5 separate regions of the Homo sapiens genome follow, and regions 1, 2, 4 and 5 are each linked to region 3. Evidence: promoter capture Hi-C in 16 types of primary human blood cells and fetal thymus (Javierre and others, 2016). All regions are on one chromosome and are shown on one strand. The core of a region is centred on a gene start or on the middle of the fragment in contact, and the rest is flanking DNA. Distances in the headings are between cores, read along the strand shown. Region 1 overlaps STK16 (serine/threonine kinase 16). Region 2 overlaps WNT6 (Wnt family member 6). Region 3 holds the start of AAMP (angio associated migratory cell protein). Region 4 overlaps WNT10A (Wnt family member 10A). Region 5 overlaps LINC01494 (long intergenic non-protein coding RNA 1494).

Region 1 (3,322 bases), core at 812-3,311, 980 kb before region 3:
GGGAAGAGCGCGCGGGCCCTGCCGGACTTTAGTGCTTTAGGGGTTAATTTCGGGCTGACAGGGACGGAGCCTAAGGCAGTGAGCGCCCCAGTACCCTCAAACCTTATTGCTGGCCCCTGCTGTCTGAGCTTACAAGCATTACCGCCGCTATTTCCGTGCGGGCTGACACGGGAGATGAAAGTGGTGAAGACACCCAGGGTGCGGGGGTGGAGGTGGGGAGAGGAGCCAGATGGGATTGATCCCCAGAGCCAGATGGGATTTAAAGGTGAGGGAGGAGGGCATCCTGATGGCGTGTGGTCAGTTGATGCCAGATTGGATGGCTGAGACACCTCTGCAGCTTACAGGAAAGAAAGAGGGAAAGGGTTCTATGAATTCTAGCTGTTCATACTCAAAGCAAATAATTAATCAAGTGGGGGGGGGGCCTCTAGCTGTAAACCCATACCTCTAGGAAACCTTTTGTCATGTGGAGCCACAGTGCTCACTTGACAGATTCCCCACTGAGAAGTGGGCTAAGAGGTTGGCCTGCATTGCTGGGTGCCTCCAGGTGGGGAGTCCTGTACCTGGGAGCCCGGGCAGGCTGCTACTCTCTTCTCACCTCTGCCCAGCCCCAACCCTCCACTCTTGCCAACTGAGTCATCCTAGCTGGTAGATGATAGGGTGGAAGAGAGACTCGCAAGGTGAGGACTTGTGGATGTGGGGCTCATGCTGTGTCCCCTCTCTCTATCCCTCAGCGTGAATGCATCTCAGTCCACGTGGGGCAGGCAGGTGTCCAGATGGGCAATGCCTGCTGGGAGCTCTATTGCTTGGAACATGGGATTCAGCCTGATGGGCAGATGCCCAGTGACAAGACCATTGGTGGAGGGGACGACTCCTTCACCACCTTCTTCTGTGAAACTGGTGCTGGAAAACACGTACCCCGGGCAGTTTTTGTGGATCTGGAGCCTACGGTCATTGGTGAGAGGAAGTGGGGACAAAATTGAAGGGGGTGGAGCATGACTCAAAGCTTCTCCCTGGAGAGAGAGGGTATTTAGACCAGGCATTCCTAGCCCTGAAAATTCCTAGCCGTACTTGAAGCTGCAGAAGGCAAGCTGATCTGAGACTGGCCTGGGCAGCTGGTCTGGGTTTCTCTCACACTCTGGTATCTCAGGCTGGCAGGAGGATGAGTCCTTCCATGCATCTGGCCACAGCTACCACCCTGGGGGAGGAAGGTCCCTGCTGAGCATAGCTTTGTGGTTTTTGCCCTTCCAGATGAGATCCGAAATGGCCCATACCGACAGCTCTTCCACCCAGAGCAGCTCATCACTGGGAAAGAGGATGCTGCCAACAACTATGCCCGTGGTCACTATACCATTGGCAAGGAGATCATTGACCCAGTGCTGGATCGGATCCGCAAGCTGGTGAGAGTGTGTCTTGGGAGGGAGGGAACTTTTGAGACTGTGCTAATGGTCAGGAATATTTTTTTTCAGATCCTTTCAGGAGGTCATCTCTAACTATACATGGTCTCGAGTGTGGTGCTGCTATGGCATCCTCAGTATTTGCCCTGACTGCTGATGTATCTTACGCTTTATGGAGCCAGGTGATAGAGTCCCTCAGGCCCCTCCCCTACCTAAACTGTTCTTTCTCGTTCTTGCCTTTCAGTCTGACCAGTGCACAGGACTTCAGGGCTTCCTGGTGTTCCACAGCTTTGGTGGGGGCACTGGCTCTGGCTTCACCTCACTCCTGATGGAGCGGCTCTCTGTTGACTATGGCAAGAAATCCAAGCTGGAATTCTCCATCTACCCAGCCCCCCAGGTGTCTACAGCCGTGGTCGAGCCCTACAACTCTATCCTGACCACCCACACCACCCTGGAGCACTCAGACTGTGCCTTCATGGTGGACAACGAAGCAATCTATGACATCTGCCGCCGCAACCTAGACATCGAGCGCCCAACCTACACCAACCTCAATCGCCTCATTAGCCAAATTGTCTCCTCCATCACAGCTTCTCTGCGCTTTGACGGGGCCCTCAATGTGGACCTGACAGAGTTCCAGACCAACCTGGTGCCCTACCCTCGCATCCACTTCCCCCTGGCCACCTATGCACCAGTCATCTCTGCAGAAAAGGCATACCACGAGCAGCTGTCGGTGGCAGAGATCACCAATGCCTGCTTTGAGCCTGCCAACCAGATGGTAAAGTGTGATCCCCGGCACGGCAAGTACATGGCCTGCTGCCTGCTGTACCGTGGAGATGTGGTGCCCAAGGATGTCAACGCTGCCATTGCCGCCATCAAGACCAAGCGCAGCATTCAGTTTGTGGACTGGTGCCCCACAGGCTTCAAGGTTGGTATCAACTACCAGCCTCCCACTGTGGTGCCTGGGGGTGACCTGGCCAAGGTGCAGCGTGCCGTGTGCATGCTGAGCAACACGACCGCCATCGCCGAGGCCTGGGCCCGCCTGGACCACAAGTTCGACCTGATGTATGCCAAGAGGGCGTTTGTGCACTGGTATGTGGGTGAGGGCATGGAGGAGGGTGAGTTCTCCGAGGCCCGTGAGGATATGGCTGCCCTGGAGAAGGATTATGAGGAGGTGGGCATCGACTCCTATGAGGACGAGGATGAGGGAGAAGAATAAAGCAGCTGCCTGGAGCCTATTCACTATGTTTATTGCAAAATCCTTTCGAAATAAACAGTTTCCTTGCACGGTTTCTTGTTCCCTCTGAGTGCTTGAGCTTCTGCTGCCTTCCCCTTCATGCTGCTGCTGCTCTGTTTGCTGTTCATGACCCTTATCCCTTCCATCGCTGAAGGTGAGACCTGCAAAGGGGTTCTTGCCAGGCCCAGGAAGCATAACCCCAGGGACTTTAAATTGAAGTCCTAGGGTTACTCAGTATAGGGAGGAAATGAGGACCAAAATCCAGGCACAAACTGTTGAAGGATGAGTCTTCAGCTCCTTTCCAAGTAGGAGTATAATCCAGTGGTTTCTGTCTTTGAAAGTTAGACTGCTACCCTGTTCTTCCTGCTGCCTCTACATTTACCAACTCTGGAAGCAAGGCTTGGCCCAGGCTCCTCTGTGCATTATGAGGGTTTGGGAGTGGGGCTGGGCTGGCCCAGAGTTCCTGGGCATGGAGCCACGTCATAAGCTTGGGGGATGGGAGGGAACACAGGCGATCTCCTAGAGTTGTTTGTGCCACTGCACCTCTGAGCAGCTTTGCATAGCTTCCTGTCTTGCTGCTTTGCTGGAGCTGGGGCTGTGCCATTAAAAGTCAGGTCATCTCCCCTCTGTTTGTGATTTCTTTCTGGCCTCAGCCTCTGTGCTAGCTAGTGGGAGACTCCTGCTAGGGCCCTGG
Region 2 (3,260 bases), core at 328-2,827, 600 kb before region 3:
GGGGTCCGGGGGTGCCGGGCAGGCCGGAGGGCCGGGGAGGGGCCCGCCCGCGGGGCGCCTGGCAGCCGCACTGCAGCAGCTCGCCCATAGAACAGGCCTGCGTGACGGCGTGGCTGGCGCCGGCCGCAGTGATGGCGAACACGAAGGCCGTCTCCCGAATGTCTGTGAATGCAGACAGGTGCAATCAGCGCGGGCTGGGGCGGTCAGCTGGGGCCTGGGACCTGAAACCTGCGGCGGGAGGGCTGCCCCAGGGGCCTGGGAGGCAGGGTCCTTGCAGGGTGCCCAGACACATGTGAGGGGGAAGTGGGGCTCAGGCAACTTCAGCGAACCAGTTCTCCTCTCCTCGGGTCCCACAGCAGGGAGAAAGCAGCCCCACTTCCGCCCCCTCCCCACACTGACCCTGTTGCAGGATGCGTCCAAAGGCCTTGCTGTGGCTGGAGCAATTCCAGCGGCGGAAGCGGAACTGGAACTGGCACTCTCGCACCCCGAGCCGGGCGCCCCGAGCTAGCTCTGCCACCACTTCCGGCTCAGCCTGGCACAACTCGGCCTGCCGCCCGGCCAGCCGCCGTGCCTTCCTGCAGATGCTGGTAGGGTCCATAACCAAGGGGCTGCCCACAGCCCTGGAAAGCAGAGAATAGCAGGTCAGGGGTGTAACCCAAAAAAGGGCTTGGGGTGGAAGGGAGGAGGACCAGCCCCACTCAGCCCGCAGCGGGAGCTGTGACATGCCCTCCCACCCTACCTCCAAACTGAGCTTGAGATTGTCCTGTCTGGCTCTCCTGCTAGTCCATGTCTGTGTCCCCTCTAACTAGAGTCTAGTCTGATAATTGCTACAGAGCAAAGATTCAATCTTATCTTCCTGCACACATCTTTGTAAATAAATTCTTATAGAAATTTTACTCAAGGTGAAGGCAGCTGGCATCAGGTAAGTCAAAGTTAAAACTCAAACTTCTAGCCCAAAAGGGTGACAAGGAAAAGAAATAACAGAAGAAAGATCAAGAAGGCCGTCAAGGAAATTCATGTGTCGTCAAGAGACACCAAAGAAAAGTAAGCAGTATCAAGGAATGATATGGTCCTAGTGGACCACAAGCTGGATATGTGTCAGCTGAACAGCCCGGATGAAAGGCAAGAACAATCCCAGGGAGAGAGAATGCCACGAGATGTTGGAACGGCTAGGGAATGGAGCCTAGCTGAGAAAAGTCACACCCTCTCCATAGCCCAGGTTTCTCCTTCTATAAAATGGGTGTGTTGGGCTTTCATCTCTAAGGTGGGCCCTCCTACCCTGATATCTTCTATGTCCCTGAACTGGAGAGCAGGAAGAAGGAGCTGGGGGCCAGGTCTCTGAAGCATTGTTGGAAAGTAGGTGACACTGACCCTTCTCTTGCTCCAGGATCTGTGGTTTTCGTTCTTTTTTTTTTTTTTTTTAATTGAGATGGAGTCTTGCTCTGTCACCCAGGCTGGAGTGCAGTGGCGGGCTCCCAGCTCACTGCAACCTCCACTGCCCAGGTTCAAGCGATTCTCATGCCTCAGCCTCCCAAATAGCTAGGACTACAGGTGTGCACCACCAGGCCTGGCTAATTTTTTTGTACTTTTAGTAGAGACAAGTTTCACCATGTTGGCCAAGCTGGTCTCAAACTCCTGACTTCAGGTGATCTGCCTGCCTCGGCTTCCCAAAGTGCTGGGATTACAGGCATGAGCCACCACACATGGCCAAGGATCTGTTGCCTTCTCTGAGCAGAATGGCAGTGAACCAAGCCCTGCGCATTAGGGTGACATCACTGCTGGGTGCAGGCAATATTTGGCTTGGTAGGGGAAGACTTCACGGGAAGTCTCACGCACTTCCAGAAATCCCTCAACTCCTGGCCTTCGTTCTGCCCAAGGAGAGAGCTGACATTTGGTTTTGGTATACCAGACCCCTGAAGGTTAATTCCTTAGGGATTCATACCTGGGGGAACTGCTCTCATCAGAATGCTCCTATTTGAACACTTAGCTGGGATTCCCATCTCAAATGAATGAGTAGAGCATCTGGGAGCAGAGGGTAATTAGAGACCACCCAAAAGCTCTTCAGCAGAGGACAGGGTGGGGGTAGGGGTCCCAGGAGAGAGAAAACATAGAGAATGGTGGTAGGTGGTGCCAGAGGTCAAGGTGGCCTACTTTTCAGTTTTGCTTTAGTGCATATCCGCCCCACTGTCCCCATTTGCTCCACAAGTACAGGCTGCCCAGGAATGTTCTGGCTCCACAACAATGAAATGTGATGGTCTTAAATAGAAGCAAGAGGAATTTAGGTCTTAAGGTAGAACTCTCAACACTAAGGATGGAGATGCTTGAAGAGGTGGTACAGGAAGATGTGTAGTAAGCTCAGTCCTTTATGGTCTACAACACAAACACGTGTGTGTGCACGTGCATTCTCATGCGTGCACGCATGCGCACGCACACACACAAAATCAAGTTGCTGCCGTCATCCGTACCCAAGTAGCTCAGGAATCAGATGTCTCTCAATGGAGAGGCCACAGTCCACATCTTCCTTCCTGCGTGCTTAAGACCAGCCCAGCACTGGCCCCCACCCTTTCCCAGCCTAGATAAGTAAAGCAATGGAGGGTGGGTCAGGGCACCCCAATGACCCAGTGACTTTTGAGAGCTGATCGGTCTCTATTGATCCATCAATCTATCTGTCCCTCCTCTGCCCATATATCCCACCTCATTATAAGAAGGATTGGAGGCAGCTTCCAACATGGCTGTGCAGGGTCAGGAGATAAGACTATGAGCTTCTTGAGCATTAAGACTGCCTTATTTTCCTTTGCATCTCCTGGAAGACTTAGGTACTTAGTTTATATCCTCCCCCAACCCCAATTTTCATTACAAAAAATTGCATAGTATGAATTCTGTGTCACATGTAATACCTGTAGTATATTATACAATGAACACCATCTAATATGTGGTTTTGAATGAGTAAATAAGCCATCTAAGAGAAAGTTCTCACTTGAGCCCAGGCCCCTGTCCACATCTTATTTCATGACTCCTAATTCATTTCCTCAAACATGCTCTTTTCCCCCACTGGGAATCAGGCAGGGAATGAGTCCTCTCTGCAGTCGTCCAGCCCCTTATGTCTGGGGCTCCACCTGTGAGTCGGGGGCTCTGCAAGCTCATCTTCCCCACCCCCACTTCCCTTACTTCTAAGTTCCCCAGTCCCTCCTCCTCAACCCTGCCCTCTGCTAACTCCCTAGTTTCCCAGGGTTGCCTGGCCTTATCTTCCCAAGGTTACT
Region 3 (3,695 bases), core at 221-2,720:
CTGCCCTCCCCTACAAGCCACGCCCCGTTGGTGGGCAAAGGGGTGGTTAAAACTCACCAGGCCAGTCCCACAGCTTTCATGGGGTTCTTGCCCCTCTTTCTGGGAATGTATTCCAGCTCCGGGGATAGGGGTTCAGGTTCCTCCTTGCCCTCTGGGGAGCTGTGGCTTTGCAGGGCCCGGGTCCTGTTATGAGAAGCCTTGTTAGCTGTGGCTCCTGCGAGAATCCCTGTGGATGGAGGTAAGGAAGGTCAGTAAGAAGAGATGAGAAGAAAGCAAGCGGGGAGGTGGGGGGCAGTAAGGGCTTGGGAGGAGCGGCTGAGATCTGGGGAAGGGGAGTGACTGCAGTCTGAAGTAAGAAGTGCCAAGGAGAATCCAAAGGGAAATGGGAAAATCGCCACCGAGGTGGCACCTTTGGAAGCCACTTCCACGTCACTGCGGGCTCATCACCCTGGTGCCAGGACGAAAAGCTTCGCTGTTCTTCCTCAGACGACAGCATGGGAAGGACTGCAGTGGGACTCACATAAGACGTATGAAGGAAATCCGGGAAAAGGTTTTGAAACTGCAAATGTTAGCACTGGAAGGGACCTTAAAGATAGTCTACTCCATCCCTTGCACTGTACGGAAGAGGAAACTGAAGCCCTGAGAGAAAAACTGCTTTGCCCAAGGTCAAACTGCTAATTATCCGGGGCTGGAACTCAAACCTCCAGAAGCCCGGGGCTCTTTCCTCTGCACTGCGGTGAGTGTGAAACACCTGGAGCGCGGGAGTCCAACAGGCTTCCTAGGAGCTCCCTCTTGCAGCAAGACCCCGGAGGTGTCGAGCAACCCGAAGGCGGGGGGATGCACTGGGTGACCTCTAAAGAGCATCTCTGCACCCCCAGACTCTAAGATCTTGCAGAAAAGTGTGGGGAGGAACCAAGAGCCCTGACCTCCTGCTATCGTCGGGCTGGACGTGAAAGAAAAGGGATCTTCTGCAGTCCTGCCCTCCCCGGGGTCCCTCTCCTTACCCCGGAGGACGCGGGCATTTCTCGCCCCCCGGCCCTTCAGCGCCGTAGCAGCTACCACCGCCGCCATGTTCAGATCCCACCCCCGCTTCACCGCGCTCCCCGCCGGGAATTGTAGTTTGCGTAAGGGGCCTCCCCCGCTCCTTCCGTCCTGCCTACAGACCAGAAACTACATCTCCCAGAAGCCCGCAGAGCGGACCCAGGAGAACTACTCTTCCCAGGAGACCCCGGAGGCGCGCGCGCTCGCTTGTTTCCCTCCAGTTGGGGGCGGAGTCAGGTGGGGCGGAGTTTGGGTTCTCTCCGCCACGCCCCGGCCCCATCTTCCAATGCCGCTCTGTGATTGGTGAGGCGGCCAGCCAACCTTCGTAGCTATTGGCCGAACGGCCGTCGCTCTTCCTGCTGGGGAGTCGCCTACGCCTACTTCCTGCCGGGAGGAGGGGCTCGAGTTCCGCGTCGTCGCGCAGAGCTGACTCTGGGAGGCGTTTGGGCCCAGAGAAGTGGATCCGCCGCTTGCGCCGCATGGAGTCCGAATCGGAAAGCGGGGCTGCTGCTGACACCCCCCCACTGGAGACCCTAAGCTTCCATGGTGATGAAGAGATTATCGAGGTGGTAGAACTTGATCCCGGTCCGCCGGACCCAGGTGAGAACTGCCGCTCCTCAGGCCATGGGACAGGAGACGCTCACCCCTGGCCTCTGACTCCTGCTTTTCCCCGCTCCCCTCCACACCCGACTGGTCATTCCTACCGATATCCCTCTTCCCCTCCTCCCCCACTCCCACCCTCACACTTAGTTCTCAGGCCTGGCTGGGGTGGGGGTTCCCTGACGCCTCCTCTGGCCCTTCCCCTCACACACCCCCTTCCCATCATCCCCTTGGCCCTCCCTTACCGCACGGTCTCTGGCCAGCCGTGGCCTCCCGTCCTGTGTCCCGCGCGCCCCCGCGGACCCCGGTGTGTCTGACTCCACCTTCCCTTCTCGCCACATGACCCGCCCCAGCCTCAGGCCTCCTCATGCTTCTCTCCGTACCTCTTACCGCCTCCCGAGCCCCATCTTCTAACCCTCTCCCCAAAGCAGATGACCTGGCCCAGGAGATGGAAGATGTGGACTTTGAGGAAGAAGAGGAGGAAGAGGGCAACGAAGAGGGCTGGGTTCTAGAACCCCAGGAAGGGGTGGTCGGCAGCATGGAGGGCCCCGACGATAGCGAGGTCACCTTTGCATTGCACTCAGGTAGGTCTTTGAGGCGATCCACCTCAAATCAGTTTAGGTGGGCGTGTAAGCATTAAACATCAGCCATGGACAGAACGTTATGGGGGACACAGAGATGGGCAAGATGCTGGCCTTGCGCTGGAGGAGCCCACAGGTGGGAAAGTGTGGCAGAATGGATGATTGCTTGGCTTCTGGCATCAGTCGAGACACCCTCTACTTTGCCAGTTAACCTTGATTAACCTCTTAGTTTTCTTTTAAAAAGTTATCTTTGGCCGGGCGTGGTGGCTCACTCCTGAAATCCCAGCACTTTAGGAGGCTGAGGCAGGTGGATCACTTGAGGTCAGGAGTTCGAGACCAGCCTGGCCAACATGGCAAAACCCAGTCTCTACTAAAAATACAAAAATTTGGCTGGGCATGGTGGCTCACGCCTGTAATCCCAGCACTTTAGGAGGCCCAGGCAGGCGGATCACAAGGTCGGGAGTTCCAGACCAGCCTGGCCAATATGGTGAAACCCCGTCTCTACTAAAAATACAAAAATTAGCTGGGCGTGGTAGCGGGCGCCTGTAGTCCCAGCTCCTCGGGAGGTTGAGGCAGGAGAATTGCTTGAACCCGGGAGGCGGAGGTTGCAGTGGACCAAGACTGCGCCATTGCACTCCAGCCTGGGCAACAGAATGAGAGTCTGTCTCCAAAAAAAAAAAAAAAAAAAAAGTTATCTTTGATAAAAGTTAATAAAAGTAGTGAGTATAAAATTAGAGATAATTGGCCAGGTGCGGTGGCTCATGCCTGTAATCACAGCACTTTGGAAGGCCAAGGCGGGTGGATCACCTGAGGTCGGGAGTTCAAGACCAGCCTGGCCGACATGGTGAAACCTCATCTCTACTAAAAATAAAAAAAAAATTAGCTGGGTGTGGTGGCATGTGCCTGTAATCCCAGCTACTCCGGAGGCTGAGGAAGGAGAATCACTTGAACCTGGGAGGCAGAGGTTGCATTGAGCTGAGATTGTGCCACTGCGCTTCGGCCTGGGCGACAGAGCAAGATTCCATCTCAAAAAAATAAAATAAAATGAGAGATAATTATATCTTTTTGAGCATATTTTATATAACTTTCTCAAGTGCTAGTTCTTAGTAAGAAACTGTTGCCAGGCACGGTGGCTCATGCCTGTAATCCCAGCACTTTGGGAGGCCGAGGCGGGTGGATCAGAAGGTTAGGAGTTCGAGACCAGCCTGACCAACATGATGAAACCCCATCTCTACTAAAAATACAAAAATTAGCTGGTTGTGGTGGCGGGCGCCTGTAATCCCAGCTACTCAGGGGGCTGAGGCAGGAGAATTGCTTGAACCTGGGAGGTGGAGGTTGCAGTGAGCTGAGATTGTGCCACTGCACTCCAGCCTGGGCGACAGAGCAAGACTCTGTCTCAAAAAACAAAAAACAAAAAACAAAAAACCCTTAACGTGATGCTCTCCTCGCTCTGTACCCAACCCCGGTGGCATC
Region 4 (3,534 bases), core at 177-2,676, 620 kb before region 3:
GGGCTGGCTGTGGGCAGGGCTGGGTGTTCCGGGACCCCATGGCTCAGGCCCTTACCACGCTGCAGTGCATCCAGTTGTAAGCGGTGCAGCTTCCTACGGAAGGCCTCCTCGTCCCCTCGCCGGGACGCATCACAGCCACAGGCCTTCAGTTTGCCCAGGGCACACGCATTGGACACGGCGTGCACCACGCCAGCTGCTGCGATGGCGTAGGCAAAAGCGCTCTCTCGGAAACCTGTGGTTAAAGACCCAGAACACATGGACTCTGGAGGGGCCTTGACACCCCATTCTCCAGCCCACCTTTCTCATCATTCCAAGGAGAAACTGAAGCCCAGTATGCAGGAGAGTCTGGCACAAGGAAACAGAGTCAAAGAAGGGCAGAAATCACGCCAGAAGCCAGTTCTTCTGCAAACAGAACCTGGTGGGGTGGGAGGGAGGCTTCCCAATAGCCCTCTGCTTTTTGTACGCCCTTCTCCTGTTCTTTAACATCACCTTTAGCAAACTCAGAATTTGTGTGTCTACATCTCTACTGTAGAGCAGAAAGTATCAGGTAAACACATTCTTTTTACAATCAGGGACTTAATCTATTACCTCTCACAGTGGTATCTGCAATTTTAAAATAAGCCCACAGAATGAGGGCAACATTTAAGCTAAAGAATTCATTGCCAGTGATGTTGCTGGTGGGAATGTAAACTAGTACAACCACTATGGAAAACAGTGTGGAGATTCCTCAAAGAACTAAAAGTAGAACTACCATTTGATCCAGTAATCCCACTACTGGGTATCTACCCAGAGGAAAAGAAGTCATTATACGAAAAAGATACTTGCACACGCATGTTTACAGCAGTACAATTTGTAATTGCAAAAATATGGTACCAGCCCAAATGCCCATCAACCAACAAGTGGATAAAGAAATTGCAGTATAAATATGCCATGGAATACTCCTCAGCCATAAAAAGGAACAAAATAATGGCATTCACAGCAACCTGGATGGAATTTGAGACTATTATTCTAAGTGAAGTAACTCAGGAATGGAAAACCAAACATCGTATGTTCTCACTTATAAGTGGAAGCTAAGCCATGAGGATGCAAAGGCATAAGAATGACACAATGGACTTTGGGGACTTGGGGAAAGGTTGGGTGTGAGGTGACAGATCAAAGACTACACATTGGGTGCAGTGTACACTGCTTGGGTGATGGGTGCACCAAAATCTCAGAAATCACCACGAAAGAACTTATTCATGTAACCAAACACCATCTGTTCCCCAGAAACCTATTGAAATAAATAAATAAATAAATAAAATGATATTTCATAAAATAAAATGTACACAATTTTGGAAAAAAAGAGAATAAATTGTCAATGATGAAATTCCAGGCCTTAGGAGATGTCAGTGGGCAGCAGAGTAAGTAAGAGGAGACGGTCAGCTCCTAATGCTCCCTGCCCCAAGATAGCCTGCTGGGTGCGTGCCCATCTTAGGCACAGCATAGGATCCTCCCTAATGACCAGACTCCAGAGGCAAAGAAATGGGTCACCAGAGCTTCCCCTTGCTTGTCCACAGGACATCCCTGAAAGCCACTCAGAAATGGGCGCTACCCAGCCACCTTGCCTGTGACCCACCCAGGTCAGCTGCAGAGGCTGTTGGAGGTACGCTAGAGGGAAGCCCAGGGTCCTGCATGGGGTCTGGCATGTAGTAGTGTTGAACATGGAGAAGGAAGGGCAAGCTGAGGCAGATACCTTCCACCAGATGTTCAGGAGGCACAGATTTTCCCTGACCAAGCCACTCTTGGGGGCCGCGGCTAGGCCGGCCTGGCCACTGGCTTGTCCACACTGCCTTCCTTCTTGGTGCTCCAACCTGAGCCATTCTCTGGGAACACCTGGACCTGTGGCAGGGGGAGGCCTACTTGCAAAGGAGGGTCCCATTCTCAGACATGCAAGCTATCTTTTGCTTATTCTGCATCTGAGAATGGACCAGCTAGGAACAAGTTCTGGTACAAGTCTCCAACCAGCCTCCGCACACCAGAGAGGGGGCAGGCAGCAAGAGAAGCCAGAGGCCTGGGCCAATCCCACCTTAATCCTCACCCACTGCATCACAGAGCCCTGTCCTCCCCTTCCTGCCAAAACAAACAAAAAAACCAAAACCAAAAACAACCAACAAACAAAAAATAACAGAAAGAAACAGAACAAGCTGTTTAGTAGTTAAGAACTAATTCCTGAAACCAGTTTACTTCAAATCTTGGCTCTTCCACTTACTAGCTGCTAATAGCTATGTGACCTTGGCCAAGTGACTTAACCTCCCTGTGCCTCAGTTTCCTTACCTATAAAATAGAGCTATTATCTGCCTCATTGTTGTTCCAAGAATTAAATGAACTGGTAAATTTAAAGTGCTTAGAATAGTGCCTTACTAATCGAGGAAGTATTACTCAAACATTAGCTATTATTGAGAAGTTCTTTCTGCTATCTGACCTCACTCACTCCTGCTGCATTTTTTGGGCCATTGTTTTTTGTTTCACCCTGATCAGGGACAAAGCCCAGCAGCTCATGACCCACTTTAGAATAGGTCACTTGGGCCACCAGATGCCTATGAAGCAGACTGTCCCTCTCTCTTTCCATCTCATGGCATCTCAGTACATTTTTGCATAAGGAGCTCAGCTATGAGCAGAGAAGAGGGGCTGGGGATGGGGCTGGAACCTTCTATGGGGATGCTGGGAATTAGCAGGAGCTGCAGAGGAGTAGAAACTGCCCTGGGGAAGTGGAACCTAAGGGGAAGGAGGATGGAACCAAGCTCCTGGGAAGCACATCCTGCATTTATCCCTTGCCTTTTATCTGTGGAACTTTGAGCATTTCTCTTATTGCCGGGGAGTCATCAGCCTGCTCCTAGGACACAATGGCAATACTCAGACCTCCAGAGGCAGCCCAGGTCTCAGAAATCACCCACACACACACACTGCCACCACTACCAAACACATACACATTATGCAAAAGGAGAAAACACAGGTCACAGAAGTTATGGAGCTGCATCCAGACCCAGCTCTCCCAGCTCCCAGGTCTGGCATCTTTCTATTGTAGGACATGTGACTCAAAGGGAGTCCTGCTGCTGCGAAAGAAACCCAGGTAGCTCAGTTTCTAGTTCCTATCGACTTGTCTGTGCATGGCACCAGGAAAGAGGATGAGGCTGGTCCAGGGATGTGTACAGTGCCAACCACCATCTTCTAGGCCCTGTCACATTTAAGGGTAAGCCTGGGGAAACTGGAGAAACGTACCCCACCGCGGCAGAGAACACCCCTACCCCATGCAGCTAAAGACACCTTCCCTACACCACCCTGTGGCCTCTGACAGCTGTCATAGCCACGTGCAGAGGTGACAAGGCAGGGCCTGTGTGGCCACCCTCTGCTGCAAGTATCCAGGCCTCATAGAAGCCCAGCCCACTGGGTCTGCACCCAGCTCCTGTTCAGGGCCCCAGTTTCGGTTCTGGCCCCAGCTGTCTGGGGCAGACACAGGCACTGTGCCATCTGGCCAGCTGGAGGGGGAGCGGGTGG
Region 5 (3,750 bases), core at 566-3,065, 640 kb before region 3:
TTTTGTATTTTTTTTACTAGAAATGGGGTTACACCATGTTGGCCAGGCTGGTCTCGAACTCCTGACCTCAGGTGATCCGCCCACCTCGGCCTCCCAAAAAGTGTTGGGATTACAGGCATTAGCCACCGCACCTAGCCAGCCCCCTAATCTCTTACCCACTTCACTATGTGGTGCCACTTCAAAGGGCTTGAACTGGGAAATGACTGTTTCTCTTCTTCCCAAAACGGCTGTGTGTGTGTGCATGTGCACGTGTTTTAACTTGGGTTTGTTTGGTTTTTTTTTTAGGCAGAGTCTTGCTCTGTCACCCAGGTTGGAGTGCAGTGGCACAATCTCGGCTCACTGCAAGCTCCGCCTTCCGGGTTCACACCATTCTCCTGTCTCAGCCTCCCGAGTAGCTGGAACTACAGGCGCCCGCCACCACGCCCGGCTAATTTTTTGTATTTTTAGTAGAGATGGGGTTGCACCGTGTTAGCCAGGATGGTCTCGATCTCCTGACCTCGTGATCCACCCGCCTTGGCCTCCCAAAGTGCTGGGATTACAGCCACCACACCCAGACTTAACTTGTTATTGAAGTAACGTACAGAAAAATACACAAATCCTATGTGCACTTAACTTTTAACACAATGAACAAAGTAGTGTAATCAGGTCCCTGAGGAAGAAACAAATCATTACCAGCTCCCCAAACCCTTCTCCTGTTTCCCTCTATTCACTGCATCTCCTACAGGGATAACCACTATCATGCCTTTTTATTTCATTTTATTTATTTTATTTTATTTTATTTATTTTATTTTTTGGAGATGGGGTCTCACTTTGTCACCCAAGCTTAAGTGCAGTGGCATGATCATAGCTCACTGTAGCTTCGACCTCCTGGGTTGGGATTACAGGCCACTATCCTGCCTTCCAACTGCATAAGTTAACTTTGCCTGTTTTTGCAGCTGCCACTGGGATCATACAGTGTGCTCTCATCTGGAACTTCCCACATCTCCACGTGCCCTCACCTTCAGTGAGAGTCTGAGAAGAAGCCGGGTGGGGTTGCTGCCCACATGGTCGGGGCTGCTGCCAATGCCACTCATCTCACCGTCACTTGCTGCCTCTCTGCCTGCCCCCTGGTCCATGGTTCTCTGACATCTCTCTCTCCTTGAGGTGGGGAAGCATGTTCTGTTTCTCATTCTCAGCTCTTTCATAAGGAGTTCCCACAGCAGAGATGTCTGTGCCCTAGCGAGCCCGTTCTTGCCCTATACCCCAAATGTTTCCCTTTCCACCAGGAAGGCCCTGAGGCCTGAGGGAGTGAGGGTAGAGGTGCACCAAGCCCCAGTGGTCATGCCCAGCCTCACAACATTCCAAATAGCACTCCTCCCTCTGCCCTGTTCGGCGGACCCCTTCCCTGTCCAGTGAAACCTTTTTCTCACTCAGGGTGATGAGCTCTCCGGCCTCTGTTGTTCCTCCCCTGCAGTCTGCCATCCACTACAGACCCCCAGCCCACCAGACACTGGGGAACCCCAACTGTGGCCATGGTTTACTTCCTCTTCCAAGGATTTCTGATGCCATGCCGGTTAAGGGACATGGCTTAAGGGTCTAGGTATGTTACATATGAGGAGAGTAAGGCTCAGAGAAATTTAAGGAATTTTCCAAAACCATATAATTTATAAGTGATGAGAATTAGACCTCAGAAGTGCCATTTGATGCCAGGCTAGAAGGCTAAGTGTCTGCTAAAGGCCACCATTCAGTGAGACTAAAATGGGTGAGACGTCTAGGTACTTTACATATATTACATCTAGTCCTCAAAACAACTTCAGCAGATGAGTGTTTTTATTTCAATATAGCAGATACAGAAACTGAGGTCCAGAGAACTTAATGACTTTGCCTTAGGTCACAGGGATAGTGAGAGACTAAACTAGGATTCAATCCCTCCCGCCGCACAGGCTGACCCCAAAGCCTGGCTCTTTCCTCTGCACTGTGCCATGCTCACTGGAAGGATTTTGACAAGAGCAGATATGAGTGGACATGGAGCTAAGGCAGGACAGTTGGGGTACATTCCAGAGAGAGGGAAACATGGACCACAGAGGGGCTGTTTCCATTTTCTATTACTGAGTAACAAACCGCTCCAAAATTCAGTGGCTTAAAAATAACCATTTACATCCCACAGTCCTGTGGGTTGACTACAGTCAGCTGGGCAGTTCTCACGTGGGGTCTCTCAAGCAGTTCAGTTAGATGGTGGCTAAGGCTGGAGTCATCTGAAGGCTCAACTCGGCTGGATATCCAAGATGACTTTTTAAAAATTTATTTATTTATTTATTTATTTTTGAAGACACAGCCTCACTTCGTCACCCAGGCTGGACTGTAGTGGCGCAATCTCACTCACTGCAACCTCCACCTCCCAGGTTCAAGTGATTCTCATGCCTCAGCCTCCCGAGAAGCTGGGACTACAGGCATGTGCCACTATGTCTGGCTAATTTTTTGTATTTTTAGTAGAGATGGGGTTTCGCCATGTTGGCCAGGATGGTCTTGAACTCCTGGCCTCAAGTTATCCGCCTGCCTCGGCCTCCCAAAGTGCTGAGATTACAGGTGTGAACCACTGAGCCCAGCCCCAAGATGACTTTTTAAAGTCACATGTCTGGCACCTCATCTGAATTGGCTGGAACTGAAGGGGCCTGCCCAGGCATTACTCTCTCTATACAGCCTTCCCATGTGGCTTGTTTCGGGTTCCTCATAGCATGGTAGTCTCTGGGTAGACAGACCTCATACACGGTGATTGGCTTGCCCCAGAGTGAACATTCCGAGCGACTGAGGCAAAAACTGCAAAGCTTCCTATTCCCTCTCTTCAGCAGTCATGCAGCTTCGCTTCCACAGCACACTCAGTGAAAAGGAAGCATGGACTGGCCCTTTCAAGGGGAGGGGACAATACACAGGTGTGAAGCATGATTCAAGGCGGACCACCTTTGGGGCCCAGCTATTACAGGGGCTGAGGCAGGAAAGGACTGCTCAGGGAACTGCACACAGTCATGCTTCAGTGGAACATGGTGTGGAAGTGAGAAAAAACTGGAGATGATCGTTTGTGGCATATGGTGGAGGGCTTCAATGCTCAGGAACCTGCATATGGATACACACTGGAGTCTTTAGCTGCCCAGCATCTGAGCCCCCTTCATATGTTGGTGGAGCCTCCCTAATGTGAGTCTTAGTGAGAAGTCAGATACTTGCTCACCTGGCCCCTAGCAGGAAGATCACAGCCAAATCAATGCTCCCAGTCAGGACTCTAAATCTTCAACAAGTGACCCAAGGAGGAAGAGGACTGTTTATAATTCATCCCAGAGGTGGCAGCAGCAAGTGCTCAGGGTGGTGGTAGCCATGTGGGAAGCAGCCCCCAAGCCCCTTAATCAGGCTGCACTTGGGACAGGATTTAGCTAAAGTTCTAGCTGCCTAGCTTCTCTTGGCTCCTGCTTGCTTCCTGAGCCTGATTCTTGAGGCTTCCTGTCAATTCTTTGAGTTCCCTGATGTCATCCCAGTAAATTCCTCTTCTACTAAGTGAACCAGAGTCTGTTTCTGTTGTTTGCAATTAAGAACCCAAATTGGTACAAAGATCCATTGAGAGCTTTAGTCAGAGGAAATGACATGATCAGAGCACTTCGTGGGAGAGAAAAACAGAACAATAGGATAGGGATGGATTGAAGAGGAAGAAAGAGGAATGACAGAGGCTAGTTGGAAGGTCGTTGTGATGTTTGAGGTGTGTGGTGAACTAGGATATTGACCATG

Evidence for each region. The method cuts DNA at HindIII sites, captures the fragments that hold promoters and counts their contacts. A CHiCAGO score of 5 or more calls a contact.
Region 1: a contact is called between a fragment that was not itself captured here and the fragment with the promoter of AAMP in region 3, in 9 of 17 cell types (naive CD4 T cells, total CD4 T cells, total CD8 T cells and 6 more). The highest score is 12.5, in naive CD4 T cells.
Region 2: a contact is called between a fragment that was not itself captured here and the fragment with the promoter of AAMP in region 3, in 2 of 17 cell types (total CD8 T cells and total B cells). The highest score is 6.0, in total CD8 T cells.
Region 4: a contact is called between a fragment that was not itself captured here and the fragment with the promoter of AAMP in region 3, in 8 of 17 cell types (naive CD8 T cells, total CD8 T cells, non-activated CD4 T cells and 5 more). The highest score is 10.5, in naive CD8 T cells.
Region 5: a fragment that was not itself captured here is called in contact with the fragment with the promoter of AAMP in region 3 in 3 of 17 cell types (total B cells, total CD8 T cells and total CD4 T cells); the score reaches 5.6 in total B cells.

What each region holds. Positions count from the first base shown.
Region 1 is chr2:219,249,640-219,252,961 of GRCh38, reverse strand. STK16 (serine/threonine kinase 16) reads right to left here. Exons shown (of 8, transcript NM_001330213.2): 8 at 2,625-3,322. TUBA4A (tubulin alpha 4a) reads left to right here. Exons shown (of 4, transcript NM_006000.3): 2 at 732-954; 3 at 1,249-1,397; 4 at 1,639-3,252. The coding sequence ends at 2,610. Among named protein-coding and RNA genes, the nearest start is that of TUBA4B, 1.9 kb to the left of the region's middle. RefSeq lists enhancers at 2,730-2,849, 2,890-2,979. The HindIII fragment of the contact is 2,112 bases long and covers 1,006-3,117 here.
Region 2 is chr2:218,868,387-218,871,646 of GRCh38, reverse strand. It overlaps WNT6 (Wnt family member 6), which reads right to left. Exons shown (of 4, transcript NM_006522.4): 2 at 400-620; 3 at 1-162. Among named protein-coding and RNA genes, the nearest start is that of WNT6, 10 kb to the right of the region's middle. RefSeq lists a silencer at 71-140. The HindIII fragment of the contact is 4,184 bases long and covers 1-3,260 here.
Region 3 is chr2:218,267,912-218,271,606 of GRCh38, reverse strand. It overlaps AAMP (angio associated migratory cell protein), which reads left to right and starts at 1,470. Exons shown (of 11, transcript NM_001087.5): 1 at 1,470-1,641; 2 at 2,073-2,225. The coding sequence starts at 1,521. It overlaps PNKD (PNKD metallo-beta-lactamase domain containing), which reads right to left and starts at 1,088. Exons shown (of 10, transcript NM_015488.5): 1 at 1,005-1,088; 2 at 58-226. The coding sequence starts at 1,071. RefSeq lists enhancers at 794-843, 874-1,253, 1,404-1,723, 2,292-3,177. The HindIII fragment of the contact is 1,112 bases long and covers 470-1,581 here.
Region 4 is chr2:218,886,682-218,890,215 of GRCh38, reverse strand. It overlaps WNT10A (Wnt family member 10A), which reads right to left. Exons shown (of 4, transcript NM_025216.3): 3 at 1-232. Among named protein-coding and RNA genes, the nearest start is that of WNT10A, 7.6 kb to the right of the region's middle. RefSeq lists a silencer at 3,314-3,433. The HindIII fragment of the contact is 4,739 bases long and covers 1-3,534 here.
Region 5 is chr2:218,904,232-218,907,981 of GRCh38, reverse strand. It overlaps LINC01494 (long intergenic non-protein coding RNA 1494), which reads left to right. Exons shown (of 5, transcript NR_110238.1): 4 at 936-1,143. Among named protein-coding and RNA genes, the nearest start is that of LINC01494, 25 kb to the left of the region's middle. The HindIII fragment of the contact is 1,982 bases long and covers 825-2,806 here.